7 separate regions of the Homo sapiens genome follow, and regions 1, 2, 3, 5, 6 and 7 are each linked to region 4. The links are contacts of gene promoters, found by promoter capture Hi-C in blood cells and fetal thymus (Javierre and others, 2016). All regions are on one chromosome and are shown on one strand. The core of a region is centred on a gene start or on the middle of the fragment in contact, and the rest is flanking DNA. Distances in the headings are between cores, read along the strand shown. Region 1 overlaps MRPL42 (mitochondrial ribosomal protein L42). Region 2 overlaps METTL25 (methyltransferase like 25). Region 3 overlaps SNRPF-DT (SNRPF divergent transcript). Region 4 holds the start of RLIG1 (RNA 5'-phosphate and 3'-OH ligase 1). Region 5 holds the start of SOCS2-AS1 (SOCS2 antisense RNA 1). Region 6 has its middle 12 kb from the start of CCDC59. Region 7 has its middle 10 kb from the start of CRADD.

Region 1 (4,104 bases), core at 246-2,745, 5.4 Mb after region 4:
AACTCTCAAAATATCTAGTTAACTAAGAATTAGGTTACCCTAGAAAATCATTCCATTATCAGTTATCCTAATACTCAGTGACCTAACTTCTTATATCCGAAAAGTCCCTTATACTGCAAAGTTCCTGTTGCTACTATTATTGAAAGTAAAGGGCTGGGCAGGGTGGCTCACACCTGTAATACCAGCACTTTGGCAGGCTGAAGCAGGCTCTGAAGTTTGAGACCAGGCTGGGCAACATAGGAAACCTCATTTCTACAAAAGTTACAAAAATTAGCTGGGCGAGGTGGTACACGCCTGTGGTCCCAGGAGGGAGCCAGCTTACTCAGGAGGCTGAGGTAGGAAGATTGCTTGAGCCCAGGAGTTCGAGGCTGTGATTGTGCCATTGTACTCCAGCCTGGGAGACAGAGTGAGACCCTGTCTCAAAAATAAAAAATTAAAATTAAAGAAAGTTTCATTACTGTTATTATTGATGTTTAATAAAAAAGGGAAGGACAGTAAGATTGGAGGCAAAGCGAAATCATGATTAAGGAAGAAAGTTCAGTGAGCAAAAATAAAAAGCCTTCCTTATATTCTAGAAGGAATATTTTAAAATTTCCCAAATGGTCAGTCAGCCCGGGAGTGTAGAACACTTCACAGTTTTCAAAGCATGTTAAGCCATTTGATCCTTATAACAGCTTTGATTTTGGTAGCCCATGTAGTATTATCCTCTTTATGAAGGTAAAGAAACTTGAGTTCTGTGGCCCTCATAAGTTCACCCAGGGTCACATATTTGGTAAACAAAAACTGTGACCAAAATCTGGATCTCCCACCTTACTTTGTCCTGTATACTTTCTACTGTACTTCCTTTTCTGTAGCAAGGTAAAATACTGAGCATTTGAAGATGGGACAACTTTTAGCTTTCATAGCTCTTTCAAAATGCAATTAAATATATATATGTAACAAGAATAACTCATAAATTACAGAAATTATTGTTAATTGAAATTCTTTTGGCACATTGAGCTTAATTGCTGTTAACTTTGGCATTGGTCCTAATTATATATTTAGAGCTTCTGCTACTTCTATATCCAGAATTACTTCCATTGGTAAAATATCAGGTAATGAATGTTTCCTTATTTTTTTTTCAAGGTGAAGTCTCACTCTGTTGCCCAGGCTGGAGTGCAGTGGTGCAGTCTTGGCCCACTGCAGCTTCGACCTCCCTGGGCTCAGGTGATCCTGCTATCTCAGTCTCCCAAGTAAGCAAGACTACAGATGTGTACTACCATGTCTGGTTATTTATTTATTTATTTATTTTTGAGATGGAGTTTCACTCTTGTTGCCCAGGCTGGAGTGCAATGGCATGATCTTGGCCCACTGCAACCTCCGCCTCCCAGATTCAAGTGATTTTCCTGCCTCAGCCTCCCAAGTAGCTGGGATTATAGGCATGTACCACCATGCCCGGCTAATTTTGTATTTTTAGTAGAGATGGGGTTCCACCATGTTGATCAGGCTGGTCTCGATCTCCTGACCTCAGGTGATCTACCCACCTCAGCCTCCCAAAGTGCTGGGATTACAGACGTGAGCCACTACGCTTGGCCTATGTTTTGTATTTCTTTGTAGAGATGGAGTTTTGCCATGTTGCCCAGGCTGGTCTTGAACTCCTGGGTTCAAGTGATCCACCTGCCTCAGCCTCCCAAAGTTCTGGTATTACAGGCGTGAGCCACCATGCCCAGTCCTTATGAATTTTTCAAACATCAGTTATGCAGAAACATTTGAGAGGCAGTTCGGCAATCACTTTTTAATGTGTAGGCACTATAGGGGACACAGTAATGAACAAGGTACAGTTCCTGGCCTTAAGGAACTTATTTAGACTTGTAGGTGAAACAGACATCTAGCAACACTAAGAATGCCCAGAATATGAGGCAGAATGTGATAAGTGTGTCATGAGGGCACAAACAAATGTCTGTGTAAACACAGAGTAGAAATTTTACTGAGTTTCTTGTTAACTAAAATACTGTTGTCTTGAGTTTTCTTGTCTGCATATTTCAGAACACTTAATTCTGTCACCCAGTCATGTTTCTTTCAGTGAAAATGTATATCATCTAGTTGGTTTATATTCAGAGATACAAAATTGTTTTTTTTTAATTTATATTTTTTATTATTAATTTTTTTTTAATAGAGATGGGGTCTCACTATATGACCCAACTATGTTGCCCAGGCTGGTCTTGAACTGCTGGATCAAGCGATCCTGCTGCCTTGGCCTCGCAAAGCGCTGAGATTACAGGAGTGAGCCACCACACCCCACCAGTTTTAATTTTTTTAGAAACGATTTTGCTCTGTTGCCCAGGCTAGAATTCAGTGGCACAATCATAGTTCATTGCAGCCTCACCCTCCTAGGTTCAAGTGATCCTTCAGCTTCAGCCACCTGAGTAGCTGGGATTATAGGTGCATGCCACCATGCCCAGTTAATTTTTAAAAATAGTTTTTAAAGATAATATCTCACTGTGTTGCCCAGGCTGGTCTCAAACTCCTGGCCTTGAGCAGTGTTGGCCTCCCAAAGTGTTGAGATTACAGGCGTGAGCTACCATGCCTAGCTTTATAAACTTCTTTTAATATTAACCCAATCCATGCATAATTAGGAAGGTCCCAGTGATGTCAAACAAGAAAATAAAATATGGCCAGGTGCAGTGGCTCACACTGGTAATCCCAGCACTTTGGGAGGCCAAGGCGGGCTGGGCTGATCACCCAAGGTCAGGAGTTCAGGACCAGCCTGGCCAATATAGTGAAACCCTGTCTCTACCAAAAATACAAAAATTAGCCGGACATGGTGGGCGCCTGTAATCTCAGCTACTCGAGGGACTGAGGTAGGAGAATTGCTTGAACATGGGAGGCGGAGGTTGCAATGAGCTGAGATAGACAACTCTTTCTTCTGTGAAGAACCTTGGGGGCAGGGAGAGTAAAAAGGATTTCATGGAAGAAGAGTGTTTGACCTTTTTTTTTTTGAGATGAAGTCTCACTCTCGCCCAGGCTGGAGTGCAATGGCACGATCTTGTCTCACGGCAACTTCTGCCTCCCGGGTTCAAGTGATTCTCCTGTCTTAGCCTCCCGAGTAGCTGGGATTACAGGCATGCACCACCACACCCGGCTAATTTTTTGTATTTTTAATAGAGAGGGGGTTTCACCATGTTGGCCAGGCTGGTCTTGAACTCCTGACCTCAAGTGATCCACCTGCCCTGGCCTCCCAAAGTGCTGGGATTACAGGCATGAGCCACTGCGCCTGGCGAATATTTGACTTTTAAGGATGAGGGGTATTTGAACAAAATGGGGCTGGAATTCCATACTGAGGACATGGTAAAGGCATGGAGATAGGGAAGGCAGGATAGGTTACAGTTCTATATCACAGGAACAAGAGGCTCTGTTGAGACTTTGATTCTTGGCATTGACCAAGGTGCATTCAAAACTTGCTTTTAACTATATTGAGCTACTTTTAAATTTTTTTCTTTATATTAAAAGAATACCCTTTTTTGAACATAGGAGAATCTTTCACAAGCTTTTAAAAAAGCAGTTTATAGCTGAGCACGGTGGCTCACACCTGTAATCCCAGCACTTTGGGAGGCCGAGGCAGGTGGATCACGAGGTCAGGAGATCGAGACCATCCTGGCTAACACGGCGAACCCCGTCTCTACTAAAAATACAAAAAAATTAGCCAGGCGTGGTGGGGGCCTGTAGTCCCAGCTACTTGGGAGGCTGAGGCAGGAGAATGGCGTGAACCTGGGAGGCGGAGCTTGCAGTGAGCAGAGATCGCACCACTGCACTCCAGCCTGGGAGACAGAGCAAGACTCCGTCTCAAAAACAAAACAAAACAACAACAACAAAAAAAGAAAAACAATTTTGGCTCTTGAATTTGCAGGTATTCTAAAAAAGGAAAATATGCTTTAAAATGTAAGCATTTTGATTAAGAAAAGTTAATTTTAAACAAATCATTTCATATTTCATCACTTCACCACCACCACCCCCCCTTTATAAACTATGCACCTTGGAAAACCCAAATACTTTATTTTTATTTATTTTTTTGAGACAGAGTTTCGCTCTTGCACAGGCTGGAGTGCAATAGCATGATCTCAGCTC
Region 2 (4,139 bases), core at 180-2,679, 5.7 Mb before region 4:
CGTTGTACATTAGTTCCTCATCTGTAAAATGGGGGTAACTTTAGTACCTGCCTGATGGGATACTGTGAAAGGTAATTCAGCTAATATATAGAAAGGGATATCTTTCACGTGAAGTGAACAGCAGGTGCCCAAGCTGGAGCACGCTTGGTGCATTTTAAACACAGCTGAGCAGTCTTGGTGAGACCGGTGAGAGATGGCATTTGGAGGTAGCCCAGGACATCCTCACATAAAACTTGTAGGCTGTACTCAGTATTTGGCTTTTATTCTGAGTGAAATGCGAAGCTCTTTGAGAATTTTGTGTGGTGATGTGATACCGTGTGATTTATGTTTCAAATCACCTGGTTTCTGTGTGGAGAAGAGAAGGTAAGAAAGGTGAAGGAAATTAAGGGAAGAAACAGGAATACAATATAAGAGGCTATTAAAATAGTCCAGGGACATTTCAAGGAACAGTAGCTTGAAGAGGTCAGATTCCCCTGCAGATAACAATGATGAAAACTGGCCAGATTATTAAAAACAACTGTAAGATTCTGGAAAATGCCAAAGGCAGAAATATAAGAAGAGGTTACTATTGAAAGACTGTGATTGATTGGGTAGGAAGTCAGAGTTTATGGCTTTCTTGCTAGAGATGCTCCTAGCCCCTGTAGATCTAGCAGTGGAATACCACATCCTTACCAGGTCAAGGTGGTGATGGCAAAATTCAGAGATCGGAGCAGGTGCAAATTTAAGACGTACATTCTGGAAACAGGAGATACAAAAGGTCTGAGATCTAAGATCTGAGTATAAACGCTGCCTGAATCCCCAAATGATCTCTTAACTCCACATGCCTGGGAGACCTAGAGATCCTAGCAGAAACACTGGCAAAAAACTTTTGAGAGGCAGAGCTTCCCCTGGCTAGAGATCCCACAAGTTTGCTGCACCTTCAACAGAGTGTATTTCCTAAAGTACATACAACTTGGGTGGTAAATATCAGAAGCCTTATTGAATTCTTGTATGAAAGGGCAAAATTCAAGTTTGGCAGAGCAACTGGAAATTTACACTAGGGAGTCTTTGAATTGTAAAAAAAGGAACTACAGAAAGGGTGAGCCTCAAAATCTGACTAGAAAATCTACCCAAATCTTTATCTGACTGCTAAACTCTGCAGGCTCAGGTATACCACCAGACAGTGGGTAAATAAAAAGCAACTAAGCAGAGACATCAGCTGCTGCACTCTGAAGGGGGGATAGTTTTCACAGTTTGAGTCAAAACAAGTTGACTTCCCACTATTAATAGAACAACAACCACCACAAATCCTTAGGAAAACAAAATAGATTCACTACAATAAAGTATCTGCCATTCCATTTTTCAACTAAAAAAAACTAGATGTTTAAAAAAAAAAAAAAGGAAAGTGTGACTCTAACTTAGGAAACTAATTCCAAGTAAGCCCTAATGCTGGATTTTAGTACCTATGATGAAAGAATTGAAGGATAGTGTGACCCGTATTTAGGAAAAAAAGAGTAAGTCAATAAGTGCTGATCCTAATTGGGCTAACGTGTTGGATTTCAGTGGCTGTTATAAATATGTTTAAAGAGCTCCAAGAAAATACACTGGGAGAATTAAAGGAAACTATGGTATTAAGGAATATTTAATTATAGTACCTACTTTATGCCCCTTTGAAATGAAAAGTACACACTTACCGACACACAATTGTATTAATGTTATGTATTATCTATTGCTGCATAACAAGTGGTTTAAACCTATACTATCTCATCAGTTTTTGTGGGTCAGGAATTCAGGAGCAGATTAACTGGGTGGATCTGGTTTGGGATCTTAAGAGGTCACAGTCAAGAAGTTGGCTGGGGCTGTAGTTGCTGAAGGCTTGATTGAGGCTGAAATATTTGCCTCTGTGATTATCTCATTCACATAGGTGGCCATAATATTTCATTCGCATAGGTGGCCATAATATCTCATTCACGGAGGTGGCTAGTTGGTGCAGGCTGTTGGCATGAGGTCTCAGTTTCATACCATGTGAACTTTTCCTACGGGGATGCTTTTGTGGCAACTTTGTGTTTACATGACGTTCTTGTTTTTGTCTGCACTCAGACATGATTATGAAGTTGGCATGGTCACAAACCTTGTCTGATGTTGGTGTACTGAGAAATTTTTCATGTTTAGTAGGAAAGACTGTGGCCTACATGTTAGTTCAAGGTCAGCTATGAGCTGACATCTGTCTGTTACATCTGGGGTTTTTTCTTTCCTTTTTTAAAAGTAGGGATAATATTACCTACCTTCTAGGACAGCAAAGATTAAAGATGATGTATACATAGCACCTAGCATAGAACTGAGAATATAGCATGGGTTAATAAATTGTGGCTAATACATGATTGTGATGGTTGTGATGATGATTGGTAGTGATGGTATAATTAGGTCTTTACTTGGAAGAAATAAATTGTCCAGAGTTCCTGGAAGTTTATGTTCTAAACAAATATATTTTTTGCCATATTAATAAATAACATACTATTGTTATTGTCTGTTGGCTTGTCTGTATCTGCAACTAAATTATAAACTATCAAAAAACAAAGGTACAATGTTTGTCTTTTTCACTATTTTCAGCATCATAAACAGTTTCTGTTTATAGATGAGTAAATTAAATGATTCTATTTTTACATTAAAATTGTTTATTTTTAATTGGCAAATAAAAATTATGTATGTTTATTGTGTACATCATGTTTAAATAATTCTTGAAAGAATGAAGTTAAACATAGATCTAATAAAGAGTCTTATTGAAGGCACTCCTTGCACATACCTAGTACTCAACTAGACATATATTATTTCTGGTTGATCCCTGAGTTATATTTATGATCATTGTGTATGATAATAAATATTAGTTATATGATCCAACTAATAGATTTTTAAATTTATTTGAAGAGACACAAATCAATAACTGTTCTTTCCCTATGTGGAAATATAGTACTTTATTTAGTACATTACAGATTACAATAAAATACCCTGGGAATTTGGACATAAAATCAGAACAAGTATCACTTCAGGTTAAAATGTCTAAAAGTTAGTACATAATATAGGCGAGATTAACCATCTGCAGCAAAAAAGCCAGTAGAGACAGCTTCTAAATATTTTGCTGATAGGATAAATATGACCTATATCTTATTTTGGAGATTAAGATTTCATTATAGCTCCTTCAAGGAAACCAGACTGTGTTCTTGGGAAGTAATGACTGTAAGTGTAAATCTGTAACATTCTCAGCAGAATCATCATTGATCTTCAGAAATTAATTGTTGTTTAATGGAATCTAGAAAATTCTTCTGAAAAGCAAGAGGGGAGAGATAGTCTAAGTCAGGATAGCTAAAATATTTTATGAAACAGAAATAGATCAAAACAACAGAAGCAACTTAAGCAGCTTACTTAGCTTGCTGAAAATTTTAAGAATATCTGGCCTCGGCCGGGCGCGGTGGCTCACGCCTGCAATCCCAGCACTTTGGGAGGCCGAGGCGGGGGGATCACGAGGTCAGGAGATCGACACCCTCCTGGCTAACACAGTGAAACCCCGTCTCTACTAAAAATACAAAAAATCAGCCAGACATGGTGGCGGGCACCTGTAGTCCCAGCTACTCGGGAGGTTGAGGCAGGAGAATGGTGTGAACCCAGGAGGCAGAGCTTGCAGTGAGCCGAGACTGCGCCACTGCACACCAGCTTGGACAACAGAGTGAGATTCCGTCTCAAAAAAATTTAAAAAAATTTTAAAAAAAAGAATACCTGGCCTCATTTGTTCTCATTGTAATTCTAAAATTAGGAGACTATCCTAACAAATGAGTGTTACAGATTATTGTTATAGGTATATTTCTCAGTGGAAACTAATACATTTGTATTTCAAAGTCAACATCTTATAATGTTATTTAAATTAGCTGGGGATAGCCTAATGAACTCTCAGGAATTCCAGCTTCTGTGCCTGCCAAAGCATAGGGATCCTCTAAGGCACTGAGCCTCCAGGGACTTTCTCTTGACTTTTCTTTCAGTTTCTTGACGCCATATGCTGCTTCTCCTGTTTCACATTATTACTCAAATGATCCTACCAGGATTGGGTGCTGAGTAAATGTTTATAGAATCAGTTCCTTTTGGTGATCATCTGGTGTAATTATTTTACT
Region 3 (3,767 bases), core at 1,125-3,624, 7.8 Mb after region 4:
ATTACAGGCATGTGCCACCACACCTGGCTAATTTTTGTATTTTTGTAGAGATGGGGTTTCACCATGTTGTCCAGGCTGGTCTCAAACTCGTGACCTCAAGTCATCTGCCTGCCTCAGCCTCCCAAAGTGTTGGGATTACAGGCATGTGCCATGCACCAGGCCAATTTAACCCATTTTATGATAAGGAAATAGACAACATCCAGTAGACCCTCTGGCAATAGAGATCAATGGTTGCCTACCCCAAACAGCCTACTGGTGTTAGAACCCCTGATTCTCAGCAGGGCATAGGGCCACTGGGACTGTAAGAATCCTTTTCCATCCTCCCTTGCAGCCAGTGTGGCCGTGTGACCAGGTTCTGGTCAACATGCTATGAGGAAAAGAATTGTGCAGCCACTTCCAGAAAATTTCCTTTAAAGATAGCTGGTGCTTGCCCTTTTTTCCCTCCTTCCTCCATTTAACCCTTCGACTACGTATGTGGTAGTTAGAGCTCCATCTGGGATGATGAAGATGAGGGTCATAGCCTAAGAGGGCAGATCAAAAGCTAGGGGCAGTCAGGGTCTCTGAAGATTTCAAGCAGCAAAGCGTCACCCCAGTATTGAACTATTCACCTTTACAAAAGAGGTCAATAAACTTTCTTTTTGTTAGGCACTTCTTGTGTTACTACAGAGATATATCTGAGGCTGGGTAATTTATAAGAAAAGATGTTTAATTGGCTCACAGTTCTGCAGGCTGTACAAAAAGCATAGCGCCGGCATCAGCTTCTGGGGAGGCCTCAGGAAGCTTCCAACCATGGCAAAAGGCAAAGAGGGAATGGCGGCGTCTCACATGGCAGGAAGGGGAGCAAGAGAGAGAGGACCTGGAGGTGCCACACACTTTTAAACAACCAGATCTCGCAGGAACTCACTCAATATCATGAGGACAGCATCAAGCCATAAAGGATCTGCCCTCGTGACCCAAACACCTCTCACTAAGCCCCATCTCCAACTTTGGGGATTACATTTCAGCATAAGATTTAGGGGGACATATATCCAAACTGTATGATTCAACTGGTTTAAATCATCCTTAATTTGGGTCTTTGTTAATCATAGCTGAGCATAATCCCAACCTAATTACCCTCTATAAATTATAGTTCCTTTCCTCAATCCTAACTAAGTCTCCTTCCATAAATAACAGCTCCCTCTCTCATCCTTAATCTTTTTGCTTTAATTTGCCTTAAAATCTACCAGTCTATCCTGTTTACTTTACTTCAGTAAGACTTTAATATACTGATAAATAATAGGTTCTTTCCTAAGAGTTAATCACCATATTTATGAACTTCTCTTAAAATATTGACTATATGATTTTTTATAAGAGATTTTTTTTTACCTTCAGTCACACACTTCTCAAATGATTTTTCTAGCATTGTGTATTTTATTAGATCAATTTGTGATATAATTCCTTTGCTCTTATTTCGGCCACCCATGAAATAGAAGAGATAGAATAGAAATGGAAGGCTAGGCATGGTGGCTCATGCTTGTAATCCTAGCACTTTGGAAGCCAAGGCAGGCGGATCATCTGAGGTCAGGAGTTCGAGACCAGCCTAGCCAACATGTTGAAACCCTGTCTCAACTAAAAATACAAAAATTAGCCAGGTGTGGTGATGCATGACTGTAATCCCAGCTACCTGGGAGGCTGAGGCAGGAGAATCTCTTGAACCCAGGAGGCAAAGTTTGCAGTGAGCTGAAATCGCACCATTGCAGTCCAGCCTGGGCAACAGAGCAAGACTCTGTCTCAAAAAAAAAAAAAAAAAAAGAAATGGAAAGAGAAAAGGAAACTGGAAAAGAATAAGAAGAATAGCCCTTCCTCACAATTTTCACATTAAAATAGTATCACATAATAAAGCTTGACTAAATTTTTTTTTTATTTACTTGGAATACTGGTATACTGAAACAATTGGAGGGTGTCCAGAAAAAATTAAAATTCTTTCCCTCTATATTTTTTCTTTTGTATTAGTTTTTATTATAAACATCAGTTTAAAGGGGATTTATAGTTTGCTTCTGTCTATCCTTCATTTCTGAATAATCCTGTCTAAAAGTATGAGGTGGGGCTGAGCAAAGTGGGAATGGGGAGGTCAGCGCGCTCTGGAGTGGTGGCCCAGTTCATGCTGTTAGAGTCAGGCAAGGCTGTCTTGCTGGGTTGGGTGGGAGGGGGGATGGTAGTGGTGATGGAAGTTTGGTTACATGGAGGGGATTGATCAGATAAGTAAACAAATTGAGGATGAAGGGAGACAGTTTTCTAACTGTTGGGGAAGGGACTACAAATATGGAAACTGAAAAAACTAAAATAAGCCATGTGGTGTTGAACTGGAATTTTCAATAGCGATATTGAAACAAGTATGGATATGGTCATATATGCATGCATGTATGTATGTATACACATGCATACGTTCTCTAGTTTTGTCCAGTGAGAGGGACTGGAAGCACCAACACCCCCCTACCAAGGAGCGTGCCTATTGTCTAGACCAATCTTTAGTTTCCTAAATGCCATTCTCCACTAAAACGAAGCAGTGTTTTTTGGAGAATTGACTGATTCCAGGTTTGGGACAGGGAACATCTTATTGGGACAGAAAATAAGGAAATGCTCAAAGAATGAGGATGACATGTCAAAAGAACACAGAAGACAGCTTAATGGGGGATCCCCCTGTCCAAATATGTGACAATTAAGGCAGAGAAATAACAATAGTAACAGATTATAAATTCATGTAATAAAATAGAAATTCATGAGTCCTTAAAATAAAGAGCATCAAAATAAGTAATCATGACATGATTAACCCACTAAATAAAATAGAATCTATGAGTCCATACTGATATAAATAAGTGGGAAAAGGAGAAAGCTTTTCTTACAGTGGAATGCCAACTGATGCATGGAGAAGAAATGATGGAGTCAGAAAATCACCATTTGGCAGCCAGCATAAGTAACTGATTTAGCTCAGAAATACAGTGGATGCTAATATGCAGTAGGTGAAAGTTTGAGGAGGAATGAGATAACTACATAGCCTCAAAGTACCTTCACAAAATACTTCTTAATAATACAATTTTAAAAGGTAACTTTGCAATGAAGAAACCTGGCAGATAGTTCCCTAATCAAGAAGTTAAGGCTAATAGCACAAGTAATGGAGCCAATAGAATATATAGGCTATCTAGGGCCGGGCGCGGTGGCTCATGCCTGTAATCCCAGCACTTTGGGAAGCCGAGGCGGGTGGATCACAAGGTCAGGAGATCGAGCCCATCCTGGCGAACACGGTGAAACCCCGTCTCTACTAAAAATACAAAAAAAGTTAGCCGGGCGCAGTGGCGGGCGCCTGTAGTCCCAGCTACTCGGGAGGCTGATGCAGGAGAATGCTCTACTGTTCAGTATATTCCATTCTTTTGAGTAAGAAGGGTGGACACCCTGATTCCACCCCCCTTTTTTTTGGCATATATATATATATGTTTGAATTGGTGCAAATTTTTAAAGTCCAAGTCTCTCAAGTCAGTTATTCATTAATTTATTCATTCCAGAAATTTGCCATTATGTGCCAGGGAACTAATTATGTGCTAGTAAATGACTAGTAATAGCAACAAAGGGTTAATGAATAAAATACCTTTTTCTCTAAAAGAGAGTGTAGTTAGTGCTAAAACAGGTGGGGTAGAGCCCATGTGACAGAACAATTAGTTACCTAGGGAAGTCAGAGAAAGCTTCAGATATGAAGTGCCCATTTGAGTGGGGCCATGGAGATTAGATGAGGA
Region 4 (3,612 bases), core at 674-3,173:
TTACTCCTGTAATGAAGAATGATGGGAAATTTGTCTCCAGGGCTGGAAGTAGGCCTGAAAATTCTGTAAGTACTTTGTGTTGGCCAAAGCAGGCTCACATTGTGTGTCTTTCATCTTTGATGCTTACTAGAGCACTAACATATTAGTCAGAGAAGAAAGACTTTCTTCTATTTTGTAATCCTGTGACACCACTTTAAGTACAGTGGCTGGTAGCAACTCCTTGGTGACCCTTCAGAATTATGAGAATCGGGCAAAGTTGATGGCTGCTACCCGTCAGAGCAGGAGTCCAGTTTATAACCGTGAGTTGATCCTGTGCCTCTCCCCTGATGAGGATTTGTGTTTCTGCCAGAAGCTTTGCTCCAGGTACTGATGAAACCAAAGTTTTGGAAATAGAAAGTGCTTCCTGAGAGATGACTAGCTTTGCAACTACTATTCAAAGAATAAGTAGAGTGTGTTTTAGAAGATGAGTATTTCCCACAAATGACAGAATGTTGGACTTAAAAGGTTCTGTGGCAGTTTGGGAGGTGACAGTTGATAGTTGTGAAAGTTGTTGTCTCTGAGATTCGTGAAACACGCCGCTTTTTAGAATGCCTCTGAAAGAACAAAGAAGTCACTGGCACTCGACTATAATATGCTAAAAAGTTTCTGGTTCCAACAGCACACAGCCAGCATCAGGTGTTTTCTTTTTTGATAAATGCAGGCGGGGTGTGATGTGGGAGAACATTTTGTGTTTTCCTGTGAGAAAAAGATAGTAGAAAAGAAAGTAAACACTTTGAAATGGCAAATCTCTTTCTTCCTCCCTCCCCTCTGAATCCAGTAATCAAAAAACTGTGAACTTTTTTTAAATTTTATTTTTTTTCACTGTCAGTATTCAATATAACTGTGAACTTTTTAAAGGAAGATGTTTTATTCTTTGAGAACCCCCTTACTAGTTAGATACCTCTAAGTGAGATATAGTTGTTTAATTTTTCCAAGGGCTAAGTCAGTAACATGCTGGACAGTTGAGTACATGCAGATAAGACAAAGAAATGAGACCTGGGCCTAGTCCAAGCCCATAAAGGATGGCAGTAAAGTCAAAATTCCCCTACAACTTCAGGCTAGGAACTACTACATTCAATGAGATGGAAAGGCTACTATTCCTAAATATTTAGTATTTATTTTATTTAGTCATTGTCCATCTTATCACTTACCCTCAAAATATTCTTTTGAGCAGTAAGTTAAGGCTGTTTTTAGCTCGCAGTTGATTGACTACCATTACTCAAGCCATTTGGGCTGTTGGAGCTCACCTTTAATTAAACAAGATTCTTATGAAAAACTTGAGAATGAAATCTGGTTGTAGGTATTCCTGTACTTTTGGATTAGTCTAAGGCTGAAATTTCGCACTCACTCCGAAAAGAACATCAGAATCATTTCGACCATGCTATGCTGCACAATAAGGAGTAGTTCAAACGACAACTTTTTTTGATCCCAGGTGTTTTATTATAGGGTTTTCTGATAGTCTTACCGGAAAGGAAGTTTTCATTCTGCTTGGGAATCTGGGGATGTCTCTAGCCATTTCTAAACTTCTACAGTGCTTCCCCCACGAACTAAAGATAACAGGCAAGCAGTTTCCATTGGAACTGTGTTAAATCGACATCTGAAATGTTCATTGCTTATAATTTGATCTTATTTAATTTCCCAAAAAATCATTAGTTACTAGGTATTGCTAAGTACCCACGTTCGGGAAACGCATCTTTTTTTTTTTTTTTTCACGGTTATTAAAACCGAGGGTGGGGGGCGGAGGACGCACGTGGGAACCCACCAGGCGCCTCAGCTTCTGCACTACAACTCCCAGAAGGCGCCGCGGCCAGGAAGCCGCTTCTGGACGGGCGTTCCCGCCCCTCGCTGGGCTTGGTAGTTGGGGCGCAGCCGCGGTGGCTGGGCGCGGAGTGTGCGTGGCCTGAGCCGTGCGGGTGACTGCTTCAGGGCTTCTCCGCGACTGGACCGGGCGCCGCTCGAAAGCACGCCCTCCATTCGCACTGCTTGTTGGGCTCATCATGAAGCGCTTGGGCTCCGTGCAGCGGAAAATGCCGTGTGTGTTTGTGACGGAGGTGAAAGAGGAGCCTTCCTCCAAAAGGGAGCATCAGGTACGGAGGAGCGCCGGGCAGGCTTGGCGGCCCGCGTGGGCTCCTCCCCGCGGCGCTGGCTCAGTGCGAACCCGGCGAGGGCGGCTGGGCGCTTTAGAACTGCCCTGCAGGCCAGGAACCTCTGTAGGTTTCCCTGGGGAGGTCTGGGGTGGGAGTTCCGTACGCCCTGAGCTCCAGGTTCTTGTACTTTTCTTAGTTGTGAGGGAGGGAATTTGCGAAAGAATTTTCCTTATCAGGAGATTCAAACTTGTCCTCGCAAGGAAATGGATAACTCACATCCACAGCATGTCCCTTCCTTTTCAGGTCAGCACCTTTTGGGGAAACCCCCTAATCAGGTAATTGCCACAGTCCAAGCTTTACTACTTTTCAAGAGTGCAGTAAGAAAGGGTGGATATTAGAAGACTTGCTTTACCTGTTCTGTCCGAACCAGTGGCGGTGTTGACAGTAGCCTAATTAGGTCACTGAAGTTCACACCTCATATTACCAGTAATTACTTAATTTATTCTAACTTTGGTGTTCTCAAGGTTTTCTGTTGCAGCAACGTGTTTTCCATAGTGTGCCCTCGGTAAATGCTAGTGAGTAACCTATATTTGGGTAATTTTTTCATATTGTACTATAAAACGTTGTAGTCTTTGATCAGTAGAATCCCCAGTGATTAGTTGGGTGCTTCCCAACTTTGCTGATTTCAAACAAAACCAACATGTCCATTGGAAATCCACCTCACTTGAGTTTCATCATTGGCACTGGCTTTCTCGTCTTCTGGACTAAAACTTGTTTAAGGCAAAGATTGCCCTGTTATCTTTAGTCCCAGCTTCTAGGACCTGGCACGTGGTAGGCACTGGATAAATATTTGTTGAATTAAAGAATGAACCCTGGAATCATTTCATGCCAGTTTTCCATTCACCTTGATGCTTTTTACCTTATAGCATCTGATCTTTTCCTGCTTTCTAGTGCTGTCACAGCTGTTACAGTTAATATTTCATGTCCTGCTCATTGCACCACCTAACTGGTCTTACTTGCCACTCAGACTGATCATCACCATGTTCTTTCCTCGTCAGAATACCACAGTTATTACTCAATGTTTGTAGCAGTAATTGGCTTTTTTTTTTAGCTGTAACAAATGTAATCCATATGAAACATTATCATCTGTTTTAGTATTTCACTCTACTGTGATTTTCAACTTCGTATGTTTGAGGGGAGTAGTTTGTGAAAGTATTCTCCACCAGGGAAAATAAGCAGCCCCTTCTCTTACCTCTCTGCAGTTAAGAACAGCTTACAGTATCGTTTATAGCATAGCATCCACATTCTTAATTATAATTCAGGGCCTCCCACTAATGAGGCTCAATCTACCTTCCATCGTCCTTAAAGTGGATTCTGTTTTAACCATCTATTTCATCCTGTGAACATATCAACCACAATCCTGTCTCATATTTTTGCTCAGACTGTTCACTCTGGATCACCTCTAGAGTGTTTTTAATTTTTCAAG
Region 5 (3,607 bases), core at 96-2,595, 5.5 Mb after region 4:
TTGGAGGTGAGAATCCCAGGTAGGGTAGAGGTGCCGAGATCCTTCCGAATCCCAGCCCTGGGGCGTCAGCCCTGCAGGGAATGGCAGAGACACTCTCCGGACTGAGGGAACCGAGGCCAGTCACCAAGCCCCTTCCGGGCGCGCAGGTAAGGGCGCCCCCTTAGCAGCCGGCGCAGGTGACCCGGGCGGGCCGCCGGGTCTACCGGAGACGTTGGAGCAGAGGGGAGGAGGAAGGGAGGAGCCGGGTGGGTGCGGGTGACAAGGAGCCGGAGCGCCAGGGGGAGGGGACTAAGGACGGCCGGCGCCGCTTAAGGAGGCGCTGCTCTCCCGCTCGCTGCCTTCCAGGACCTGATCAAGGGGACCGCCTCCGGTCCCCGGCCGTGGGCACCGGGACGAGCACGGCGTCCCCACGCCATCGATGTGTCTTAGAGCCGGAGAGTCTGGTTTCCGAGGACCCACAGTCGCTCCTGCACGCCCACCCCCCGCAAAAGTGCGGCCAGGAGGGTCGCATCGAGGGGGCGCCGCCGGGATGTTTAGAGGAACCCACCCCCGTGGCAGGCCAAGGGCCAAGGATCGCTATCCTTCCCTGAACCCGGGCGCTCAGCTGGCCCGGGTAGGGGGCAGGCTCCGGCCGCCGAAACGGGGTTGGCTGTAGCCGGTGGCCGGGGAGATCTCTAGCTTGCGCCCGAGCACCCCGGGGTGTGGGGCCAGAGGCAGGCCGACCCCGGCGTGCACACCGCCCGCCCTGCACCCGAGCGCTCTCACCCGGTCTTCCCTGAAGCCTGTGTATTGCGACCGAGCCTCTTTAAAGCAGTAGCGGGGCCCGCGGTCACGTGAGGCCGATTCCTGGAAAGTTCCTGGAAAGCCGCCTCCGCAGCAGCCGGGCGGGGCGCGAGCGGAGCGCTGACTGGGGAGGGAGGCGGGGAGCAAGGGAGGCGCGTCGGTCTGGGAAGTCGCGCGCACTCGCTGCTCCTGGGACCGACGTTTAACTCTTGCCAAGTCTCGTCGCAGCCGCCGCGGCTGGCGGGCCTTGGGCTTCCCCTGAAGCATGAGCCCTCTCGCCCGCAGCCACCCTCACCGCGTGGCCCGCGGACAGTGCGCGCCGGGGTCCCGGGTGCACAGCCTCAGGATACCCCGTGCCCGCAGCTCGGGCGCCCGCGGCAGGTACCGGTAGTGGGGGAAGCCCGAAGGCTCCGCCCCGAGGAGAGTTACCGGGGAGGGCGGCGAGGCGCGGCCGCGTGCGCCGGGGAGCGGCGGACGGCCTGGGCTTCCGCAGCTCGGAGCGCCGGGGAAGAGAGAGTCCGAACCGCGGCTCTGCCCCGCGGCCTAGCGTTGCTGCCTGCTTTCTCCAGCCCCTTCTCGGCGTCTGGAAGTGTCTGGAGTTTCTTTTTTTTATTTCCCCTAAACTGCCATTCAAATTAATAATCCTCCTAATAACCTGATCTCCCGCTCCTCCCCACCGGCCTGCCTCCCGCCCTCGCTCCTTCCTCCCTCCCTCCCTCTCTCCTTCCCACCTCCAGGGTCGCAGCCGGAGGGAAACCCGGCAGCAGTCCGAGAGTGGAGGTGTCCCAGCCCGTAGGGGGCGTCGCCGCGCGGTGGGGGATGGGGTCGAGGCAATGATCCTCGAGGCTTTTGTGTGCCCTCTGCGCACGGAACTCCGACCGCCGCCTCCGAGCGCGGGGCTGGTTGCATCCCCGGGCATCTCGTTCCCAAATTAAACGTTAACGGGGGAAACAAGGGCAGACGCCCCTCCTCTCCCGGGCCCCTCCCACCTCCCCTTTTCCCCCCACCCCCCCGCCCCATGTCCGCTGAGGAGGCTGCCTGGTGCGGAGGCGGCGGCGGCGGCCGCGGCCGAGGTCGAGGTAAGAGCGCGGCGTTGGTGGTTTGCATTTTCCGCAGCGCTCGCGACCGCCCGCTCGGCCCCGGCCTCGCCTCGGAGCCCCGCGAGGGCTGCGCGCTCGGGCCGATTCCTCGACAGCGCCCGCGGCGGCGAGAACCACCGCAGCCATCCTGGTCCGGGAGCGACCGCCGCGGCACCCCCAACCCCGCCAGAGCGGGCACCAGGAAGCGGGGGGAGGGGAGCGAGGAGCCTCCCGGGCGGAGATGCGGCAGCTCCCGCACCTCCGCACCCCGGGTTGGTGCCTCGGGGCCCCGCAGCGCTTTAGGGCGGAGAACCAAGTTTGTGTGGGTGCTTCTTCCTGGGGGCCCTCGGGCTGCGCCAGGTGTGAGACCGGAATGCCAATTTGGGGAATCTCTCCTGTTCTTTCCTTTTTAATTTTTTCTACTTGTCCTTGACAAGGGCCTATTCCCACTGGATCTGCAGGTGACTATTTGCTCTTCCTAGGTCGCCAGTCTTTGATTTCAGCTAGTGACCCTGGGCGGGAAGACACCCTGTTCACCCTCCTCCTGACCTCCGCCCCCCACCTCTTCAGCCAACTTTATCTTGGATCTCTGCTCTCTTTATCTTTTCTCTAGAGCTGGGCCAGGGCGCTAACTGGAAGCTTGGGGTTAAATGGTGCAGGAACGTAGAGGCGGAGGAGTCCCTGGGATTTTCCACGTCTATTTCCCCACCCCCACCCCAGCCGCAGGGGTCCAGTTTGGACTGACCCAACCTCCCGCTTTCTCTTTGTAGGCGATCAGTGGGTGACCGCGGCTGCGAGGGACTTTGTCATCCGTCCTCCAGGATCTGGGGAGAAAGAGCCCCATCCCTTCTCTCTCTGCCACCATTTCGGACACCCCGCAGGGACTCGTTTTGGGATTCGCACTGACTTCAAGGAAGGACGCGAACCCTTCTCTGACCCCAGCTCGGGCGGCCACCTGTCTTTGCCGCGGTGACCCTTCTCTCATGACCCTGCGGTGCCTTGAGCCCTCCGGGAATGGCGGGGAAGGGACGCGGAGCCAGTGGGGGACCGCGGGGTCGGCGGAGGAGCCATCCCCGCAGGCGGCGCGTCTGGCGAAGGCCCTGCGGGAGCTCGGTCAGACAGGTAGGGAGCCGATCGGCCGCGACGCGTGCGGGAGGGAGCGCCTCCCCAAGGAAGCAGCTAGGAAGCGGGGTCGAGGTGGGAAGCAAAGAATAAGATGGAAATACGTCCCTTGCTTCCAAGGGACCGCGGAGAGCACGCTCGCAGGGTCCTGGGTCCTTGGGAATGCGTAAGGAAAGTGGTTCTCCAGGGACTCAGGCCTGGCGGAGCGCAGAGCGCGGGAAGAGCTTCTTGGAAATAGCTTCTTAGCACGCTGGAAGATTTACTGTTTTCCGCAGCTGCTCAGGGTTAGGCTCCCGGGCTCGAACCCCGGCCGGGGAAAGCGTCGGGCGCCTCCCTTTGCACGGGGTGCAATCAGCAAGTCGGTGCCGCGGGCCCCGCAGGCCCAGCAGCATCTGGCTCCCGGGCGGAGCTGCGGCTGCAGCCCAGGATCTTGGCGGCCAAGTTCAGGGACTGACACTGCCGCGAGGGCGGCTGCCCGGGCGTCGAGAGTAGGCTGCGAAGCCCCCGCCGAGCGCGGCTTCCATGGTCGGCGCGCCCAGGGTACTGCCGCTTTCAAGTACAGTCAGGCAATTCGCGCGGCACGCTGTCTCTAGGCATCTGAAAAAAGAAAAAAGAAAAAAAGT
Region 6 (3,629 bases), core at 902-3,401, 5.7 Mb before region 4:
AAAAAAATACATTGGAGTTATATCCTCCAGGACCTCAGAATGTTACTTCATTTGGAGATATAATCTTTACATATGAAATCAAATTAAAATGCAGTAATTAGGGTAGACCCTAATTCAATGACTGGTGTCCTAATAAAAAAGAAAATCTGGGCACAGAGACATACACACAGGAAGAATAACATGTGAAGACTGGAGTTATGATGCCATAAGCCAAAGGAATTACCAGAGCCAGAAGAGAATCCTGGAACCAATCTTTCCCTGTGACGCATCTTCAAAGGGAGCATGGCCCTCCTTACACCTTGATTTTGGGTTTCGGACTTCTGGCCTCCAGAACAGTAAGACAATACATTTTTGTGTTTTAAGACACTGACCTTGTAGTACTTTGTTATTGTAGCCCTAGGAAACTAATACAATATGTCTTCTAAATGACACACTTCTTGGGTTGGAGGTCATGCAAAATGTTGAGTTGTTTCCTTTGAAGAGGTAGCTCATCCCTGCTGTGCATAAGACTGAGTAAAGGAGGTTAGTTTCTGACACCATCCAGGTAGGTCTGCATGCATCAGTAAAGTTTTTCCTAGTGGTGGAAGGTGTCTTGTAATGATCTTATAGAAAGCCCATGGGAGCTCTGAGGAGAGGACTACATGGTTATTAATGATAGTGGGAAAATGTAGACCTGGGAAAATTAAATGTTTATGAAAATTTGGACAGTGTCATCTTCAGTGTCTCCTTTACTCATTCTACTTCTCTTTAAGACTGGGGTAATGCTAACAGTGAATTTTCTGGGTTAGTGGAAAGATCTAACAGAGTTTCTTTATGCTTATTCTCATGAAATGAGTATTTCCGTTTGGGAATGTATGGTTTAATATTTTAACAACTGTGACAGTGTTAGCTCTTTGGCAAGGAAAAGCATCTATCCAGCCAGAAACTTTTACCAACAATAACTAATGTGTATACATAGCCTAAAGATTTAGGCAGTTGTATAAAGCCTATCTGCAAAACCTCAAGAGTCTTGAGTAGAGGAACTGAACCATGCCTCACCTTAACAGATGTACCTGGATTATGCTTGTTATCTACCATTACTTATTTAATGCAAAAGTAGTTTTTTTAATTCTATAACGTGAACAATCATAGAATAATCTGACCTGGGTTCATTGGTGGGATTGTGGTGCTATGGGGCACTAAATCCCAAAATTGCCAAAATCTATCTTTATGGAAAGGGGATCCCCAACTTTGCCTTTCAGAAGGTTGAGCTAATCACTGTAAGTCAACCATAGCCAGTTTAAATTGAGACAATACTTCTTTTGAAAGTTTGGTGGAGAGAGATGTCCATTTTAAAGCATCCCTTTTAGCTGCGATGTGAAAAGCAGCTCATTTAGATGTAACCTTGCAAGACCACTGCCCTCAGATTTTGATCTGCGTATGCACTTCTATCTTAATAACTAGGATCTCCTTGTGAGTTTTTAATCACTTTCACTAAAACATTAATATTTTTCCACTGGTAGTCAAAATATCTTAAGAGGTCATAAATCCTTCCAGTTTTCATAACATTCCAAAATCATGAACAATTCTTAAAAGCACATCTGTTCTCTTTTTGTCTTTTGCCACAATACAAGCTTTAGTCAGAGCTATTAATTCAGCTACCTGGGAAGATAGAATACAATGTAATGAGCTGCTTTAATGGCTGCATTTTCAGTGGATACAGAAAGAAGAGGATGCCATTGTCATTTTTTAAAGTAAAAACCCATCTATAAACTATATTAAATCAGAATTAACTAAAAAGGTGTTTGTAAGGTCTGACCTGGGTATGCTTAATTCCTGAGTTATTGCTATAGTCATGTTTTCCCTTCATCTTGAAGAATTCCAGTTATAAGAGTACAATTTGTACAATGGTAAATAGTGATGCACAAAGAATAAAAGGGCTTCATAAATGTAAAAGTTGTTGATAGATAAATGTCGAGTGTTGCCTAGAAGTAACAGTGATTGCCCAGTACATGCAAACCACAGAGTTAATGAAAAGTAAATGCCACATTGGCAGAAGCTTTCACCAGTTTGGCAGCTGCTGCCACCTCCTGCAAACATGAAAATTGGGTTAGATCTTAGTTACCAAACCAAGGGATATGCTAAGAGAGACAATAAACAGGCTTCTCTTGAGTTAATATTCCCAATGCATCATCTTGTCTTTCTTGAACAAGAGAGAGAAGGTTTTTAGATGATTTAGGGATACCCAAAGTGGGATGTTGTTAAAGAGAAGAATTCGAAGATGAGAAAGCTTCTTCTACTTTTATATCACACGAGAAAGTCTCAGGAATTGTTGTCATAGTAAGTTCATAAGAAGACTGAGCAACTTTTAAAAAAATAGGTATTTATTGCTTGCAATAACCAGTCAATCCTAAAAATTTTTTCATTGTCTTTTAATTTAGAGCTTTAGTAAAATGGAATTTTCTTTGTTTTGGTGTACGAAAAATACCCATGTACTGACAGATCATGACTCAAATAATTTGTTCAGTTTCTTGGCAAAATCACTTTTCTCTAGATTCCTTATGCCCCTTTTCAGCTAATCTTGAAAAGAAATATGGAGTCTCTGTGAAATACTTAGATCAAGAGGGCACTGCAAAATATCATCTACATATTGTGTGAGAATGGACCCTCAAAGAAAAGTCATTTTGTTTAGATTGAAAACAAATTGATGAGGAGTCCATAAATCCAATATGTGGTATAGTAGACCCCTCTTATCAGTGGGACATATGTTTCAAGACCCCTAGAGGATGCATAAAACCATGGATAGAACCAAACTCTATATACATATTATTATTATTTTTTGATCTAAAACCCAGATGGCTACTAAGTGCCTAAGACAGATAGCATACACTGCTGGGATACGCTGGATATGATTCACATTTCAGGGAGGACAGAATGAGATGGTGTGAGATTTCATCATGTTACTCACAACAACATACAATTTAAAACTTAGGAATCTGGAATTTTCCATTTAATATTTTTGGATTGCAGTTGGCCACACGTAACTGAAACTTTGAAAAGCAAAACCAGGGATGCAGAGGGTTGGGTGGGGGGTGGAGCAACTATGGTATATAGCCACATATGCTGTTAATTTTCCCACAAAAACAGTGAACAAATGTTAACTGTATCTACATGTGTACTAAAGAATGCTGCACATACATCTACCACTATGAAATAAATATTTACTTCTTCAGCAATTGGATGACAAGACAGGTTCCTATTGGAAACTACCAGGAATCTAGAAATCATAATTTTATTGCTTACCCTGAGTTCTTGAATAAATGGGTATCCTTTCTTGATAGGCTTCTTAAACGGCTATATGGGAAGATTGCAAGGATGAGATATGGCTGTCCTTATTCTTATAAAGACTCAATAATAGATTTTATTCCTGTGATTTCTTCAGGTTTGTGTAGATATTGGAATGACGTTGGTGGGGGGTTATAAGGATTTATTTGAACCTTACTTGGTCAATTGCAAATATTTCTCTCATCAGTAGAATCTTTAGCCTGAAGACTAGAAGTAGTCTGATCTAACAGTGCACCAGGAGAGTCCAACAGATGCAAAGGATCTGCTGTAATTTGGGTTGTTCCAATGTGCTGCCTTCTGGTGTA
Region 7 (3,765 bases), core at 1,129-3,628, 5.6 Mb after region 4:
TGTTCATTTTGTATCTGTTTTCTTCTGACTTTTGTTTTCCTCATCAACCTTTTTTTTCTCTCTTTTTTTTCCTGAAGGTATAGTTCATTGCCTATCCTAGCTCTATACAAGATGGTCTCCAATTCAGCTTCCCAACCTCCATGAGTCCAGGGCTTTACTTCCAGCCTTCCTCTCCCCCTACTCCCACTCTGCTACCCACTTCACCCACTGCTGCTAAATTTTTAGCCCTATAATTTGTAGGTGAGTATCAGGTGTACAAGGCTCAGCCACCTCCCTGGACTCATGCACCCACTCTGGTCATGGCCTCAGAGCAATTTTCTTATTTTTTGTAGGCTTATGCATTCATAAAAGAGTAACTTTTATATTTTATCTTGCATTTTTAACATTGTGTAGCATTAGGTTGCAGGATCTCTTATCCACCATGTTGCCAGAGATGTTGAAACTATTTTTTATAGTATTAAGCATTTAGTAAACTCTATTATGTTTTTCCAGGCTTTTGGTCATTTTGATAAATTTCTTCTTTATTTGTAAAAGTTTCTGCTATCGTTTGAATATTTGTGTTCCATCAAAATTCCTATGTTGAAATTGAATCCCCAATGTGATGGTATTAGGAGGTGGAGCCTTTGGGAGGTGATTAGGTCATGAGGGCGGAGCCCTCATGGAGGGGATTAGTGTCCTTATAAAAGAAGTCCCAGAGAACTAGTTCATCCCCTCTACCATGTAAAGACACAGTAAGAAGGTGACATCTCTGAGCCAGACAGCAGGCCTTCCCCAGACACCAAATCTGCCAGTGCCTTAATCTTGAACTTCTCAGCCTCTAGACATGTGTGAAATTAAATTTTTGTTATTTACAAGTCATCAAGTTCATGATATTTTGTTATAGCTGTCCAAATGAACTAAGATAGCTCCAAATTAAAATAAATGCTTTATATATAATTAAAAGGAGTTATCTCAAGCAGGCAGATGCTTGCAGTCATTTTTCTGTTGTCTGGGGTAGCTGTTGGAATTCTGGGTGACATGGCTCTTTATATAGAACTATCCCTTGGATTACAGGCCATTTATACTAACATTCTTGTCCACTAGACACCAAATGCCAGGAGATTTCTCTAATCATTATGACAACCCCCCAAAAAATCTTCATACATTTCCAAATGTCGGCACTTCCTGTTGAGAGTCACTAGGGAAAAAAGCACCCATTGACAGTGTCCATCTGCAGGACTTTTACTGTTCAAATGCGCCATATGTTACAGTTCCACCTGTGACAATTTTTGAAGAGATCATTGATCATAAATGTATAGTAATTTTGTCTTGTTTTGTTTTTCCTGGAGACATTAAGGTGAAACGATGCCTACTGCTCATTATATGGGCGACTGGTCTCTTCGAAAAATGTTTTATAAAATATAAGGTCCAGAAAAAATATGTCCACATCAATATCATAAACTTGGCATCATTTTGAAAGTTTGAGATCAGGTGTGTTAACTCAGTTAAGATGATTGTAAGGACCACTGCTGAGATTCAGATTGAAAACTAAATTTAGGGCCGGATGCGGTGGCTCACGCCTGTAATCCCAGCACTTTGGGAGGCCAAGACGGGTGGATCACTTGAGGTCAGGAGTTCGAGAGCAGTCTGGCCAACGTGGTGAAACCCGGTCTCTACTAAAAAAAAAAAAAAAAAAAAAATCAGCCAGGCGTGGTGGTGCATACCTGTAGTCCCAGCTACTTGGGAGGCTGAGGTGGGAGAATTGCTTCAACCAGGGAGGCGGAGGTTTCAGTGAGCTGAGATTGTGCCATTGCATTCCAGCCTGGGCAACAGAGCAAGAATCCGTCTCAAACAAAAAAAAAAAAAGAAAGAAAATTGAATTTGGTAAACAATGTAATTTCATTCTATAGGCTACTAGCCCCTCAACCACAAGTCACTTTACCTCTCTGTGCCTCACTGTTCCCTTTCATAAAATTAGGTGCCATTTCTTAGTTCTTTTCCATTTCCAGAATTCTGTGATTATATTATGGTGCACATTCTATGTAATAGTTTGTATTTTTTTCAAAGAGATATCATATATACTAGCTCACTTGATCCTTACAAGAACCCAATCCTTCTGTATGTAAAAAGAAAATTTTGTCAAGTATCAACTTTGGAGGCCTGAATCTTAGAAAATGTGTAATAATCATTGTACAGGTTCAGCAGGACACTCAGATATTTATTAATTAACTAACTGAAGAAATGCTGTTTTGGCTAATGTCTTGCTGTGCTCACAGCATATGCGTCATGGGAAGAATGCTCTTGTATAGCCAAGCTTTGATGTCCATGTGCTCTCAAAGGAAACCACACAAATGCTGCAGCCTTTTAGGGGAGAGCCATGGGGCTCTACATTGAGGCTAAGCTGCCCTGACCTTACTTTGCTGGATGAGTGTTCTAGGGAATCTGGCCAATCTGAAAGGAACATTCATATTAATATGGTAATAAAAAGCTTGGGACTCTGGAATAAGCCTGACTTTTATTTGAATCCTGGCTTTGCCACTTAACTAGTTATAGTTACTTTATAAGGCTGTACAAGGATGGAATTAAATTCAGTGAGCTAATATGTGAAAAAATGTCCAGTTTCTGGCATGTAATAAATGTTCAATGATTGTTAACTAAAAAATATTAGGGTGGGAGCTGTCAAAGGAAATTGGATAATTTAAATTTAGTCTCAATGAATCTATTACTTACATAAAAACTGTGTTGTTCTGCATTCTGCTCATCTTTCACGTTCAAATACACATTAGGCTTATTCACTAATTGATTCATTAATTTCTTAATTCAATGACTATTTATTGAGCACCTATTATGTGTCAAACTCTATTATAAATAAACACTGGAAATGCAGAAGCAAACAAGACATTAAGAGTCCCTACTCTTATGGACGTGCATTTTAATGGGGAGTGACAGAAAATATCCTCCTTCCCAATAAAAAAACAAACAAATAAGAAAATTAACTGGTAATGATAAATGCTAAGAAAAACATGAAATTAGGCAATGTGATAGACTCTGGGGAGCAATTTTAGATTGGGTGTTCAAGGAAGGCCTCTCTATGGATGAAAAGATGAAGCAAAGTTCCGGGGTCCAAGCAAGATATGATGTAGAAGAGAGTAGAGGTGGTTAGGATGGAGAGAGGCGAATGGGTTAGGGGATGATGTAGAGGAAGAGCAATAGTACTTATTGATGGGTCGGACAGTAGGTGTGAGGGACAGAGAGGAATTAAGGAGGAGCCCTGAAGTCTTTGACTTGAGTGGATGGTGGTACCATTTACAGAAGTGGAGCAGGCTGAGTAGAGTAAATTGGGAGTGAGAGGATCAGGAGTCTGGTTTGGGAAAGATTAAGTTTGAAGTGCCTATTGAACTCCAGTGGAGGTGTCAAGTAGACAACTGGATACACAAGGTCATAGCGAAACATTTGGGGGATTTTTGCCTTTAGATAATATTTAATGGAGTGGGCGGGATGAGAATGGTTAGGGGAAAGAGCACACTCTCACTTCTCGACAATGGGAGTTAAAAAAGAGAAGAGGTTCCTGGTATATTCTTACATTTTCAGGTATCTATGACTCATAACAAAAGCTTACAGTAATAAAATACAGTCCTCATAGAATTACCCACATGGAAATAAATTGATAGGAAATTCTGGCCTTTTCACATTCTTTAGTATACATGAATGGGAATCAGAAATAAGTCGGATTGTAATACACTAGTCATTCTTTGACCCACATTTTTGACTGCCTACTGCTAGGCA

What was found. Contacts are between HindIII fragments. The CHiCAGO score rates a contact against its expected background, and 5 or more counts as called.
Region 1: a contact is called between a fragment that was not itself captured here and the fragment with the promoter of RLIG1 in region 4, in 1 of 17 cell types (naive CD8 T cells). The highest score is 6.6, in naive CD8 T cells.
Region 2: a contact is called between a fragment that was not itself captured here and the fragment with the promoter of RLIG1 in region 4, in 1 of 17 cell types (naive CD8 T cells). The highest score is 6.8, in naive CD8 T cells.
Region 3: a fragment that was not itself captured here is called in contact with the fragment with the promoter of RLIG1 in region 4 in 1 of 17 cell types (naive CD8 T cells); the score reaches 5.3 in naive CD8 T cells.
Region 5: a contact is called between the fragment with the promoter of SOCS2-AS1 here and the fragment with the promoter of RLIG1 in region 4, in 2 of 17 cell types (non-activated CD4 T cells and total CD8 T cells). The highest score is 8.0, in non-activated CD4 T cells.
Region 6: a fragment that was not itself captured here is called in contact with the fragment with the promoter of RLIG1 in region 4 in 2 of 17 cell types (total CD8 T cells and naive B cells); the score reaches 7.0 in total CD8 T cells.
Region 7: a fragment that was not itself captured here is called in contact with the fragment with the promoter of RLIG1 in region 4 in 1 of 17 cell types (total CD8 T cells); the score reaches 6.8 in total CD8 T cells.

Annotation. Positions count from the first base shown.
Region 1 is chr12:93,472,157-93,476,260 of GRCh38, forward strand. All of the region lies in intron 2 of MRPL42 (mitochondrial ribosomal protein L42), which reads left to right. Among named protein-coding and RNA genes, the nearest start is that of MRPL42, 6.7 kb to the left of the region's middle. The HindIII fragment of the contact is 4,058 bases long and covers 1-3,524 here.
Region 2 is chr12:82,362,367-82,366,505 of GRCh38, forward strand. The region is part of intron 1 of METTL25 (methyltransferase like 25); the gene reads left to right. Among named protein-coding and RNA genes, the nearest start is that of METTL25, 5.9 kb to the left of the region's middle. The HindIII fragment of the contact is 5,535 bases long and covers 1-4,139 here.
Region 3 is chr12:95,844,963-95,848,729 of GRCh38, forward strand. The region is part of intron 1 of SNRPF-DT (SNRPF divergent transcript); the gene reads right to left. Among named protein-coding and RNA genes, the nearest start is that of SNRPF-DT, 12 kb to the right of the region's middle. The HindIII fragment of the contact is 991 bases long and covers 1,880-2,870 here.
Region 4 is chr12:88,033,613-88,037,224 of GRCh38, forward strand. RLIG1 (RNA 5'-phosphate and 3'-OH ligase 1) reads left to right here and starts at 1,924. Exons shown (of 7, transcript NM_001009894.3): 1 at 1,924-2,126. The coding sequence starts at 2,037. It overlaps LOC107984542 (a long non-coding RNA gene), which reads right to left and starts at 1,884. Exons shown (of 3, transcript XR_007063395.1): 1 at 1,802-1,884; 2 at 99-735. The HindIII fragment of the contact is 2,128 bases long and covers 351-2,478 here.
Region 5 is chr12:93,570,053-93,573,659 of GRCh38, forward strand. It overlaps SOCS2-AS1 (SOCS2 antisense RNA 1), which reads right to left and starts at 1,346. Exons shown (of 4, transcript NR_038263.1): 1 at 1,213-1,346. It overlaps SOCS2 (suppressor of cytokine signaling 2), which reads left to right and starts at 2,623. Exons shown (of 2, transcript NM_001270471.2): 1 at 2,623-2,984. The coding sequence starts at 2,846. RefSeq lists silencers at 390-439, 500-689, 1,060-1,339, 1,700-1,749, 1,760-2,069 and an enhancer at 3,287-3,426. The HindIII fragment of the contact is 2,692 bases long and covers 1-2,499 here.
Region 6 is chr12:82,344,223-82,347,851 of GRCh38, forward strand. No RefSeq gene overlaps it. Among named protein-coding and RNA genes, the nearest start is that of CCDC59, 12 kb to the right of the region's middle. The HindIII fragment of the contact is 231 bases long and covers 2,037-2,267 here.
Region 7 is chr12:93,665,524-93,669,288 of GRCh38, forward strand. No RefSeq gene overlaps it. Among named protein-coding and RNA genes, the nearest start is that of CRADD, 10 kb to the right of the region's middle. The HindIII fragment of the contact is 174 bases long and covers 2,292-2,465 here.